3 separate regions of the Homo sapiens genome follow, and regions 1 and 3 are each linked to region 2. The links are contacts of gene promoters, found by promoter capture Hi-C in human tissues and cell types (Jung and others, 2019). All regions are on one chromosome and are shown on one strand. Each heading gives the region's core, a stretch centred on a gene start or on the middle of the fragment in contact. The rest is flanking DNA. Distances are from core to core; before and after follow the strand shown. Region 1 has its middle 30 kb from the start of LINC00917. Region 2 holds the start of FOXF1 (forkhead box F1). Region 3 holds the start of LINC01081 (long intergenic non-protein coding RNA 1081).

Region 1 (4,139 bases), core at 467-2,966, 140 kb before region 2:
TGGACATGCACAACATATGTGCCCTAGTGGCAACCTGGACCATGGGAGGCCCAAAGGATCTGATCCAGGGAGGAGCAGGCGGCACAGGGTCCTTGCTGTGAATCCAGACCTCTGGGTCTCTCTGGGGAGCCCTTCGGTTGACCCTTAATATGCCTAAGGACTGATTGCACCAGAAATGTGGAGCTCATTCTCCATGCAGAACCTGGCCCTCCATGGCTCTTAGGGCTGAGGGCTTGCTTGGCTCCACCAGGGTCAGGTGAATGGACAGAAAAAGGTACAGGAACACGGTGGGGAAAGCACGATCCGTGGAATCAAGTGGACCTGGGTTTCAGTACTGGCCCCCACTGCCAGCAACTGTGTGGCTTTATCCAGCTTCCTTAACCTTTTGGGTCCTCGGTTTCCTTCCAGAGTCTTCCAGGGCATTGCCCACTTGGCCCGTAACCTGCTAAATTGCCTCTGATAGTTGGGGTGGTGGCAGGCTGGGAGCTGACATTTGGAGACAGAGTTGAGTTCTCAATTCCTGCTGTTTGAGTTTGTGCAGGCTGTTAGCCTCTCTGGGATTCCTTTCCTTGCTTGTCCAAGGGTCACGTCCTTCACAGAACCATGGTTATGGGGATGTAGGCACAGGGCATGGATGTGTGGCATCCAGCATGAAATACCCACCCGATAAAAGACCCACCGGATAAAAATTACCATCATCAGCACGTGGTGCTCACCGCCAGTAGCCTTGTCTATAAAATCACTTTCCAGGCTGTGGTGCATGTGGCCTTGTGGTGCATGTGGCATTGTGAGAACTTCCAGAGGCACACTGCTTTACATGCAGGAGGTACTTGAGAAATGGTCATTTCTCTTCCTCCTGGTCTCAATTGCCCTTAATTGCTTTAATTCCTAATAACTCTGAATAGTCAGTCAATCCTGAAAGTCCCGGTGGCTGGAACCCATGAATGGGATGGTCAAGAAGACACGTGCAGGCCTCCGAGAACCCAGACTTCAAACCTGAAGGCACCTTTTTTCCTCATCCCTGGTGACCCACTGAAAACAGATGCATTTTGTGAGTCTTGTTTTTTATGAGCGTGGTGGAGACAGTTCATTATGTCCTCAAGATCCTTTCAGTTGTCTCCTCATCAACAGAACTCAGCAAGTGTACATTTCCCAGGCTCTCTTGCAGCTAGAAGTAGTCATGTGACACCATTCTAGCCAAAGAGATATGAGCTGGGGCTGTTGCTAGGACACAAACCTGTATTTCCTTGATACTTCTTTCTGTTCTTCCTGGTTTGGCCGCAAGCTGCTGTTTCCATTTAAGGATGCGTCTTATGACCCTTTTTTATTAGCTCCCTTGGGCCTCCTGAATTCCTTCTTTAATGAAACTATTTTATTTTGGGACTTGGAATCATCCATAGCCATTTTCACTGGATTTCTAAGTGTACCATTTTGTAACAATGTGCTATGTTTTGAGTTACAAATGTGGGCGCATTTTGTCATTACAAGAGGTACCACATTTTAAAATTTCTAATTGAAATACACAAAAGTACACGTATCATAAATGTGCCACAGGATGAATTTTGTCAACTGAACATGCTCATGTTCGTTTTTTGCCACGGATGTGTTCATGCTGGCTCATGTGGGAGATGGATTTTCTTCTTTAGGTCACAGTATGGGTCTCCTGGGGCTGCTGTGACCTAGGTAACCAGCACCCAAATTGAGAAACAGACATCACCGACTCCCAGAAGCCCTCCCTTCTCTGAAACCTGCCCTGTCGGAGTAACCACTATCCTGACTTCCATACAGTATTCATTCCCTCTGCCTATGTTCATGCTTTTATACATAAATGAAATCATACAGTATGTTCTTTTGTTTCTAGATTCCTTGACTCAACATTGAGTAGGTGACATTCATTTGTGTTGCAGCCTGTGGTTGTGACTCATTCATTCTCGCTGCTGCACAATATTTCACTACATCTAAACACCAGCACATCTTTGTTTCTAACAGCTGTCCGGTATCCTCACATGCGGGAGTAAAGTGCTGTATTTAACTGGTCCTCTTTGAATGGACTTTGGGAGACTTTCTGTTTGGGGGTGATGACCAGCAATGTTGCAATTCTATTCCTGAACATATCCCTTGGTGTGCTTTCACCAGTATATAGGCAAATTTCTAGCTTGTCTTTTAAAATGTATCTGCTTCTGAATTGCTGGGCTAATTAAAGAATCATATGGTCCTTTTGTAATTAAAACAAATCCAACGAAACGCATTCAAATTGCCAAAGTACCCCAGCAGCAAAGTGGAGTCACTTACTCTCTCCCTCTCCTGCCTCCATGAAGTGACATATTCTTCCTCCTCTGCGGGCACAGCCTTGAAGCTCACGATCCTTCCACTGCTCTTCCCTCTGGAATGTCTGGAAACAATCTGAAGCCTCGTGAATTTTATAGGCTCTAAGCATCCATCAGCTGACCTAATCATTTTCAGAGACCTGAAAGTCAGTGTTATCGCCGGTACTACCAAACCTTCACCCGTCGGAAATTGGAATGGGAAGATTGGTTGCAGTCCATTTCTCCAGAGAAAATGCTCTGAATTGAGGAGGAAAAGGTCTAGTCAGACCCATTTTCATTAAAGAATGAGAATCCAGGAGGCCTGAGAGAGCTAATAAAAAGAGCTGTAAAATGCATTGCTAAATTAAAAAAAAAAAGGTTTCTTTAAGGCATGTGTAATACATATTCTATTGCAGTAAAAGGGGGAAATCACTTACATACACATGAAAACAAACCCTTACCACCTTTGAGGCTATCATGCACATTAGAGAGACTCTGAAAGGGGACATCAGGCACTGCAGAGAGATGAGGGGAATGAGACGAGCCAGACTTGGACCTCGCATAGTCTTCCTTTCTGTACTGTTTAAATGTTCTAGCCATAAGCATTGTATTGTTTTTCTATTACTGTGTAACAATTTACCACAAATTTAGTGGCTTAAGACAACACACATTTATTAACTCAGTTTCTGTGGGTCAAGAGTCTGAGTGCAGCTTTGCTGGTGCCCGGCTCGGGGTATCACAAGGCTCAGTCAGGGTGTCAGCTGGGCCACATTCTCATCAGACACCCAACTGGGGAACGATTCTCCTCCAAGTGCCCTCAGATTATTGGCAGAATTGTTTCCCCTGAAGCTATAAAGCTCATAGCAGCTGGTGTCTTCAAGGCCAACAAGAGAGTCTTGTATTTCTTTTTTTTTTTTTTTGTATTTTTATTTATTAATTATGTCCCTACACTTCCTTGTTTTTTTCTGCTGTGTGTAAACAGTTGGGCCCATTTCCTTCCATAAATGACCATCCTCAGTATGTCAGCCACTTCCTCCATATCACGAAATGGTTGCCATGGTTCCAGCTGTCATTTGCTGCTTTCATAATTTCCAATGGAAGAAGGCAAACTGTTTCTTCATGTCTCTTTTTGAGATCACTAAGCCTAGATGGTCAGCACTCTGTACTTTCCACCCGCATGTCCCTCCATGAGCCAAAATGGTCTAGAGCTAGGCAGATGGGCTCACGTAAGTTACCAAACTCAGCCTCCAACACTTACTACATGACAATGCGTGAGTCCTTTCATCTCTCTGTGACCCAGCTTTCTCATCTATAAAAGCTGATAACAATAGTATCCATTTCAAAAAATTGTTGTGATCATTAAATGAGGTTATGGATGCATTTGAGCCCAGGGAGTTTTTAAGATCCTCACTATTGTGGTCATTGTTGTTGTTATTATTATTACTAGCCTGGGGCAGTGTCTGGCTTAACAAATACTTGAGTTGATGACTGATTGACGGGTGGGAACGCTGACATGTGTGGAACCCAAAGAAAGGAGCCGAGGTGTGGGAGAAGCAGGAGCTGACAAGCAGCTTGCATGGGACCACCCAGCACGCGGCCTCAGGCCTGGGCCGAGCCTTCGGGAGTGACTGATTCCCTGTCCGAGTGTGGACCCTGAGCCGGCGGGCCGCCCCCAGTCCGTCTGGGCCCTTTGTTTTTATCTGGCCTGCCCTGTGGCCCTCAAGCGAACGCTCCGTGTCATTACTGCGCTTGAGACGCTCAGGTACCAGCTCGTTTGTCAATCAGCACCGAGCATTTCAGTTGTCAAAGACGCAGAGGTCTTTGTGCAATGAC
Region 2 (4,139 bases), core at 512-3,011:
TGGCAAGGGCAGGTCTGCGTGCGAGCCCCCTGCGGGCTGGCAGCCAGGTGCGCGAGGGCCGCCCTTGCCGGCGCTCCCAGCCCGCGCTGTCTGCTCTCAGGAACCTGGCCTGGCGCGCAGTGTCAGAGGCCCCGCGGCGGCGGCAGGCCGAGCCCACAGGGGCATTAGGCCAACTCCCCCCTCCCGCCCTGCGCACGCGGAATTCTCTATTATTATTATTAAAGAATCCCCCAGAACTTGTTTACGTTAAACCCTGTAAACTTCCTGCCAGGGCCTTTGCCATCTCTCGGGAAATCGGAACCTGCGCTTTGAAAACGGGGCCGCGGGGCCAAATAGGCGGGTTTTCAGTGTGTGTTGGGGGTGGGGGAGGGCAACTGAACTACGTGTGAGTTCAGATCCGAGCGTGGCGTGTGTACGCGTGAGTGGGAGTGAGTGCGAACTTAAGCTCCTGTGGGCCTTAAGCTTCCGTGTCAACGAGTGCATTAGTGGGTGCGCACATGCCTGAGCGCCCTCTGCATATGAGTGTGCACACACGCATGGGTGTGTTTACACGTCTGTTTGCGTAATTTACCGGGTTTGCATGTGCATCAAGACATGTATGTGTGTGCTAATGTGTGGACAAGAGCGCGAGGGTGTGCGCGCACGGGTGAGTGACTGAGCACGCCGCTTATTCAGGGGCCTGTGCGGTCTGGGTCGCCTCTGGGCCAGCGGGTTCTCACTCGCCCCCGTCAGGCCCGCGGCGCCCGAGACAAAGCGGCCGCGACTCGTGCTGCGCTTTCGTTTTCCGCCTGCGCTCTGCCCCGGCGGCTGCCCGCCCGCTCGCAAGCTGCTGGGCGAGTCCGAAAAATCCCGGGAGCGGCGCAGTTCTTCCCGGGGCGGGGAGAGTGGGTAGGCGGTCCCTCGCGGGAACTTAGCCGGCCGGCCGCGAGGACCGGAGTCGAGCCGGCTGTGCCTGCGATGGTCACGACCGGGAGGCCGCCGCACTTGCGATTTGCTACAGGGCTGTGCGCGTCGGGGAAGGCCCCGGCCCAGGGAGCGTTTCCCGCCGCGCCGCCCGGGCGGGGAAGGCGGGGTCCAGCGCGCACCGGGGCTGAACCGCGGGCGGAGGGCGCATTAACACTTGCTCGCCAGGTTGGTGGAGGCGGGGCGGATTCTGCTGGCGGCCGCGGGGCGGCGAGAGTGGGGGCTCTTTAAGCGCCCACCAACGCGGGGGCCCGAGGGGGGCAGGGACGGAGGGAGGGAACTCCGGGAGGGTCTTAGGCCGACCCGCGAGACGCAGCCGAGCGGAGATGGAGTGAAGGCTGCCTCGCCCGGAATCTCGGAGCCGAGCGCCGCGGGCGGCGGGGACTCAGGGCTGCTCCCGGCTGGGGCGCACGGCCGTAAGACCTGGAGGTGGTGCCTCCCCCCAAAAAATACCGGCGGGGGTAGCTTCCTCACGGCCTTCGCCCGGGCTGCCCTCGGCCTCAGCTCGGCTCCTTTCCTTGTGGGAGGGCGAGAAAGAAAGAGGGAGGAGAGAGGTGGGGGAGGCGGGAGTTGGAGAGAGAGGGGCTCTGAGCCAACCGCCGGCGGATCCAGCAGCTCCTCGGGGAGGGCGGGCGGGAGCGCGGGGGCGGGCGCGCCGCGGCTCGCTCGGGAGAAGTGGCCGCCGATGACGGCAGAGGTGCAGCCAGCCCCGCGCGCGCAGCCCCCTCCCCTTCGCCCTCCTCCCCCCCGTCGTCCTCTTCCTCCTCCTCCTCCTCCTCCTCCCGGCCCGTCCGCGGCGCAGAGCAGCGGCGGCAGCGGCGGCGGCGGCAGCAGCCACCCGATGTCTTCGGCGCCCGAGAAGCAGCAGCCACCGCACGGCGGCGGCGGCGGCGGCGGCGGGGGAGGCGGCGCGGCCATGGACCCCGCGTCGTCCGGCCCGTCCAAGGCCAAGAAGACCAACGCCGGCATCCGGCGCCCGGAGAAGCCGCCCTATTCCTACATCGCGCTCATCGTCATGGCCATCCAGAGTTCACCCACCAAGCGCCTGACGCTGAGCGAGATCTACCAGTTCCTGCAGAGCCGCTTCCCCTTCTTCCGGGGCTCCTACCAGGGCTGGAAGAACTCCGTGCGCCACAACCTCTCGCTCAACGAGTGCTTCATCAAGCTACCCAAGGGCCTTGGGCGGCCCGGCAAGGGCCACTACTGGACCATCGACCCGGCCAGCGAGTTCATGTTCGAGGAGGGCTCCTTTCGGCGGCGGCCGCGCGGCTTCCGAAGGAAATGCCAGGCGCTCAAGCCCATGTACAGCATGATGAACGGGCTCGGCTTCAACCACCTCCCGGACACCTACGGCTTCCAGGGCTCGGCCGGCGGCCTCTCGTGCCCGCCCAACAGCCTGGCGCTGGAGGGCGGCCTGGGCATGATGAACGGCCACTTGCCGGGCAACGTGGACGGCATGGCCCTGCCCAGCCACTCGGTGCCCCACCTGCCTTCCAACGGCGGCCACTCGTACATGGGCGGCTGCGGCGGCGCGGCGGCCGGCGAGTACCCGCACCACGACAGCTCGGTGCCCGCCTCCCCGCTGCTGCCCACCGGCGCCGGTGGGGTCATGGAGCCGCACGCCGTCTACTCGGGCTCGGCGGCGGCCTGGCCGCCCTCGGCGTCCGCGGCGCTCAACAGCGGCGCCTCTTATATCAAGCAGCAGCCCCTGTCCCCCTGTAACCCCGCGGCCAACCCCCTGTCCGGCAGCCTCTCCACGCACTCCCTGGAGCAGCCGTATCTGCACCAGAACAGCCACAACGCCCCAGCCGAGCTGCAAGGTGAGTGGGGAGGCCGAGGGCGCCCTGGTCCCCGGGAAGTCGAGTCTGAGTGGCAGCGGGACCCAGCTGGGGCGAGCCCCTCCACTTCTGTGGTCGGAACCCCAAGGCTGAGGGGAGGCACCAGCTCCCCAAGGTGTCTCTTGGCCCCACCTCTCCCCCTTCGAAGAGTGACTACCGCTCTTGACCCTAGTTTGGGCCAATCTGTTTCTCTTTCTGTTCGAACTCCAGCTGCCAGCTGCTCCAGGCCTGACCAGGTAGGCTGGTCCTGAGCCAGATGTCCCAGACCCCAGTGCCCTAAGTCCTTTTGTGTCCCTTAAGTCCCCTCACAGCTTGGAAAGATCCTGGGATGGACCCAAGGCTCCCAGCGCTGGCCAGATGGCTGTCCCTCCCTGGTGGTGGCCCTCAGGCTGCCTGGAGGGCTGCCTCTGCCTGGGGCTGGGCGGAACGGAAGGTGTTAGGCCCAAAGCCGCTGGGCCAGCGCTCAGAGGCTCAGCCCCGGCCTTTCAGGGGACCAGACCTGGCAGACCCACAGCTGAGTCCAGGGGCATTTTGTGGTGACTGAGGCAGGAGGGTGCCGTGGCCAGGCCCCGGAGGGTCAGAGCTGCAGACCGGGCCATGGGGGCTCCTTGTTTTTTAGGATCCAAGTTTTCAGGTCCCCACACCCCCAACACCCCTGATACCCCAATACCCCGAACATGCAGAAGCATCTGCCAAGGGAGATGCAGCAGCCTCGCCTCCTGATTCTGCCCCAGGCCCCCCGCAGCCTGCAGGCCCAGCTCTGGAAAAAGCTGGAGTGAGCTTGCCAGGGCCAGTCCAGGGTCAGCTGTCAGCAGCCCCAGGAGGCAGGAGCCAGGCCTGGAGGCCTTAGGCAGCCTCTCTGCGGGGGACTCCCCGGCTCCGGGGCCTGTTCTCTGGAGAAGCTTCTTCTCACCCCTGCTGCTGGCCCGGCGCTGGCCCTGCACTGGCCTCTCCTTCAACCCCGCCGGCAGTCGTAGCCTCTGAGGTTGGGGGTGGTGGTGGCTGCCCTGGCGGTGACGGCCATGGGCGTTAGGGGCCCTCCACTTGGTCTCCCTCACCACTTCCCCTATGGCTCTGGAAGCCCTGGGCCCCTGCACGGTGTCCGAGGCTGGACAGGCACGCAGCAGGCAGGCAGGCAGGCAGGCAGGCAGGCCGTGGCAAGTGTTCTGGAGTCTTTTCCTTGGGTGCGCAGCTGGAAGGCCGGGACTCGGGGAGGAGAGCGGGGAGGCGGCCGTGCTCTGGAGCCAGGCTGACAGGCCCTGTGCGCCCCACGGGAGCACTGCTCCTCTGCCTGAACTCTGAGCCACCGTGGCTAACTCTTCTGCTCCCCCAACCCCT
Region 3 (4,290 bases), core at 666-3,165, 220 kb before region 2:
GGGTTCCTGTATGGAACCTGAGACCACCAAAGGCACGCTGTGGTGCCGAGACCCAGTGCCTGCCTCTCTCAGTAGCACTGTTCCAAAGCCATCAGCTCTTTCCTCCCCTTCCCATCCCCCACCTCTGGACTTAGTTCATGAATCTCCCTCCCCTATTCCCTTCTCCTCTATTGGGCCCACCCAGCTCCACATAGTTTTAGCTCCTGGTACCCTCCAGCACATTCTACAGAGACCCCAGGTCTGTGCTCCACACTCCTGCCTTTCATCTGGGTTCCCAGAAGCTGCAGGGACAACAGAGACCACCTTGTGCCCCACCCACCTTCCTGGGTGGACACCCAGATGCTAGGCTCTGAGACCCCTTCCTATGGAAGCACAAAGTCCCCCCTCCGGGCTGGGCCGCCCACCACTGTGCTGTCCACACCTTCCGGAGGGAGGCAGGTACCTGTGGGTAGAGCTGGGGAGCCCCAGCGCACCATTTCAGGACTTGGAGAAAATAAAATAACCTGGTCGCACCTCAGTTTGCATATCAGTGAAGTGCGATGATAAATAGTACCTTCCTCCCAAGGTCAATTGTGAGGATTAAAACAGAATATTCACAAAAGTCCGTAGCTCTCTAGACTATAAGCGCCTGCTTCATTCGTAGCAGGTGCTGTGACTATTATCATGATTATTTCACCCTAAAACACTTTGAATAGGACAGCGGAAAGACCCTTGACCCCTCCGGGGACAATCCAAGAGCCCCTTGGCTAAAACAGAGCCATGAAGCCCCACTAGGCTGGGCTTTGAGACTAACCTCACCACCACCCTCAACCTGGTGACCCAGCACAGGTTCGCTGTCTCGCTGTGTAGCCCCGGGTGTAATCCATGTCTGGAGATAGAACACTGGAGCTCAGTGGGGCCTGAGCTTTCTGGAGTGAGGGTCACCGCAGGGCATGCACTGGAAATCCAGATCCCTGGGCCGCTCCCTGGGAAGTTCTGATCTAATATGTCCAGGCTCCTTCTGGGATCTGTTTATTAAGCATCAGGATGATTCATATGACTCCGCCGTTGGAACACTGGAGCCTGCGCGGGTGTCAACGCTTGTTCACTTGTTACAGGTGAGGTCACCCCTTTGTCACGCACCTCGGGCCCTGCGCCCTGGTGGTCCAGGGCTGGTGCGGGGGCTTAGGTGCAGCCTCTCCCACGTGCACCTGCGAGGCCTACCCTTTCTCCCGTCTCAGGGCCTTGATGCCCGTGCCTGTGAAGCTGGCATCAGCGAAGACCTCAGACGGGAAGGGATGAGTGAGCAGGTGTGCCCCCAGGGACCCCACGCGCCCCCCGCCCCTTCGCGCACCGAGGTCGTCCTGCGTCTCCGGGATCCCAGGCCAGCGGGAGGAGGGGCCGCAGGGGCGCTGCGGGCAAGGGGAGCCCAGTGCGCAGGGCTCCAGAAACCCCGACCCTCGCAGGGGAGAGCCAGCCGAACCAGACGTGTGGGGGCAGCAGCCGCCGCGGCGGTCTGGGACGCGGGTGTCGCCTTCCACGGGACTTGGGTCCAGGGACCCAAGACGGGGATCTGGGAGGAGGGGGATGCCCTTGGGGCCTGAGACCCGGGCGGTTTCCGAAGCGAAGTAGTTACCCAGAACCGCTCCCTACCTTCTCCCCGCCTCCCTGTCTTTCTGCCCCTCTGTCCCCTGCAGCTGCTCGGCCCTCCCTCCTCTGAAACCCACCGCCCGCCCAAGGCTCACTCCTTCCTGCTGTTCCCGCCCGCGAAGCTGTTGCAGGGACGGTGCGCCCTTGGGCTGCACTCACCACCGCCCCTCGCCCGCGACGTCCTGGCCCCCTAACCCCAGCTTTCCCGCCGCCGCTCACTCCCGCGCTCCGCTGCAGCTCAGCCCGGTCTGCAACTCTCCCTCTGTTTTCTGCCCCGCTCCTCAGTTCTGCGCTCTCCTCTTCTCCAGGCTTCCCTCTCCTCCTCCTTCTGCCTCTCCCCTGTCCCCGTTCCATTCTCCTGCGCCCCTCGCCAGCGCGCTCGCAGCCCATCGGCTCCTGCCGGGGCCCCTCTGGTGCCAGCCGCCTTCAGGCTGTGGGTCCGTCCGCTGGTGGAGGGGAAGGTCGGGGCTGGCCCCGGGCCCCGCGCTGCTGGGCCCCATGGTCAGTGGAGACGCCTCCTGGTCTCCCTTCAGAGCTCCTCGTCGTCGTCGGAGTCATCGGAGGACCAGGAAGGAGGACCCCCCACCAGCTGCCGCAGCCTCTGCTGCGAATCCCCCCACACCACACCTCTCACCCCAGAAGCACAATTATCATTGCCCAGCCCCTTTCAGACAAAAGGAAGAGCGCGGTGGGGATGATCAGAGGGAACCCTGACTCAATTCATGGTGTGCGTGCGTGCGTGCGTGCGTGTGTGTGTGTGTGTGTGTGTGTGTGTGATTGATTGATTGATTTTTAACTAGAGGGGAAAAATTCCTAAGAAAATGGGCAAAAATTACAGATTGTCCCATTTTTGTCCAGTATTATCATTGGAAAGGGAGGAAGATGAAGAAAGAGCCAGTGTTTGTGGAGTTTGTTTCAGGCTAGAAATAGAAAAAGGCTGCAGTTGATTAAGGAGGTGGCCAGAGAAGCAAAGTTTGTTGAACGCTGAAGATCACCTTGTAAAGGTGGAGTTCCTCAGGCTTTACTCCGGGAGCCCTCCCTGGGGAGCAAGAGAAGGCAGGGTCAGTGCTGAGCCATCCCGGGTGTGTGGACCTGCTACGCTAGGTCTGGTCTGGACGGTGCTGATGGGACCGGGGATGACAGAGCCAGGAGGGGCCAGAATGAAAGTCGCAGAAAACCAGAAACAGGCTACAAACTTCTCCAGTCTGCCCACCCTCCCCTTCCGTTTGTTTCATGAAAACCCATTTCCAATCAGAGGACCACAGGCCAGGGAACATGGTGAGCCCAGCCAAAGACACTTTCAGGACAGATGGTATAGAAACGTGGTACTTTGGTAAAGAAATCAAACTTTAAAGAGATCAAAACTCTGACTTCATCCCTCCCCAGACAGCATCTTGAAAAGGCGTCCCAGAGCATCAGCAAAGGACATCTCTGGGTCAGCGGGGACAGAACTGTCTCTTGACCTTGAACTTAAGTCATTTCTTTGTGATGCCTGAAACGTGGGCACTGAGCATTCATCGTTTTGTAAAAAGAGGGGACAAAAGAGTAATATTTTGGACTTTTTTTTTTCTCAAATAAAATGAACAAGGATGGATGCCTGGGGGTGGAATGGAATTATGTGCAACCTCAGATGATATAGAATCTGCAGGCAGTCTCTGTGCTGTACAGAAGAGCCCCTGCCATGCCTCCCTGCCCCAAAGAGTGGTTGCAAATTGAGTTCACGCGGGAGAGTTTAGAACACTGCTTGGTTCATAGGCAGGGTTGGTCGGTGTCATTCTTGTTATAGTATTCACCACTTGGCTATGATGGAGAAGTGAACTGAAATTCGATTTTCTTGCCTCTCACTGGGGACTGTGTTTGGTCGTAAGCTGCTGCTCGGTCTACCTATAGAGGTGGGGGTGCCTGAGCAGGAAGCGGTGCTCCCTCTGCTGTAACTGCTCCCTCCCCTAGAACTCAGCCTGCCTGCCCTGGGTCTGCCACAGCTGACAATTCCATCTGGAGTCTCCCCTAAGGGAGGCAGCTCCCCAGTCTTTGCTGTTAGCCCAACCTCAGCCGCAAAAATCCAAGCCGCTCCAGGTCCCCACTGCTCTGCTCTTGTGGGGAGCAGAACATGACATGGCTTCACACAAACAACCGCATTCACTGAATTGCACAGATTGATGTCCAGTTTGCCAGAATACCTCAGGCTTGCCGCCTCTCCAAAGCCCACGCATGGAGCCCTGAAATGCCGGCCCACCCGCGGGACGCTCACACCCCTCCAGATCCCAGCAAGGCTGGAGGCTGAAGGTTTTAACGCGGCTTTCTGCTCTACTGCCATGAAGGATTGCGTCGTCGAAAAATATTGAAGGGTGAAGGGAGATGTTCAGGCAAATAAATGAGGAAAGTAATTTGCAAAACAGCACGTGCACCATGTGATCCCATTCTTATAAGGACACGGTAAAATAACTAATAGGAATAACAACAGCTAATGCTTACTGGGTGCTGACTAAGCGTGCACGCTTCCCTGTGTGTGTGTGTGTGTGTGTAACTTACACACCAAAACACCAAACTGTGGCAAGTGGTTCTCTTGGTGGTGGCTTTGTCATGTTCCTCTCCCCTTGTGTAGTTGCATATGGTCCAGGTATTCTACAAGAAACACATCTTACTTTGTAAACCATTGCG

The links. Contacts are between HindIII fragments. The study calls those that stand out against the background at their distance.
Region 1: a fragment that was not itself captured here is called in contact with the fragment with the promoter of FOXF1 in region 2 in 1 of the 25 tissues and cell types used here (H1 embryonic stem cells).
Region 3: a contact is called between a fragment that was not itself captured here and the fragment with the promoter of FOXF1 in region 2, in 3 of the 25 tissues and cell types used here (H1 embryonic stem cells, mesendoderm cells and neural progenitor cells).

What each region holds. Positions count from the first base shown.
Region 1 is chr16:86,373,651-86,377,789 of GRCh38, forward strand. No RefSeq gene overlaps it. Among named protein-coding and RNA genes, the nearest start is that of LINC00917, 30 kb to the left of the region's middle. RefSeq lists an enhancer at 3,528-4,064. The HindIII fragment of the contact is 9,034 bases long and covers 1-4,139 here.
Region 2 is chr16:86,508,766-86,512,904 of GRCh38, forward strand. FOXF1 (forkhead box F1) reads left to right here and starts at 1,762. Exons shown (of 2, transcript NM_001451.3): 1 at 1,762-2,783. The coding sequence starts at 1,805. FENDRR (FOXF1 adjacent non-coding developmental regulatory RNA) reads right to left here and starts at 95. Exons shown (of 4, transcript NR_033925.1): 1 at 1-95. RefSeq lists an enhancer at 3,255-4,021. The HindIII fragment of the contact is 9,827 bases long and covers 1-4,139 here.
Region 3 is chr16:86,285,261-86,289,550 of GRCh38, forward strand. LINC01081 (long intergenic non-protein coding RNA 1081) reads right to left here and starts at 987. Exons shown (of 6, transcript NR_104139.1): 1 at 794-987. LINC02135 (long intergenic non-protein coding RNA 2135) reads left to right here and starts at 1,171. Exons shown (of 3, transcript NR_038438.1): 1 at 1,171-1,289. RefSeq lists an enhancer at 1-576. The HindIII fragment of the contact is 9,125 bases long and covers 1-4,290 here.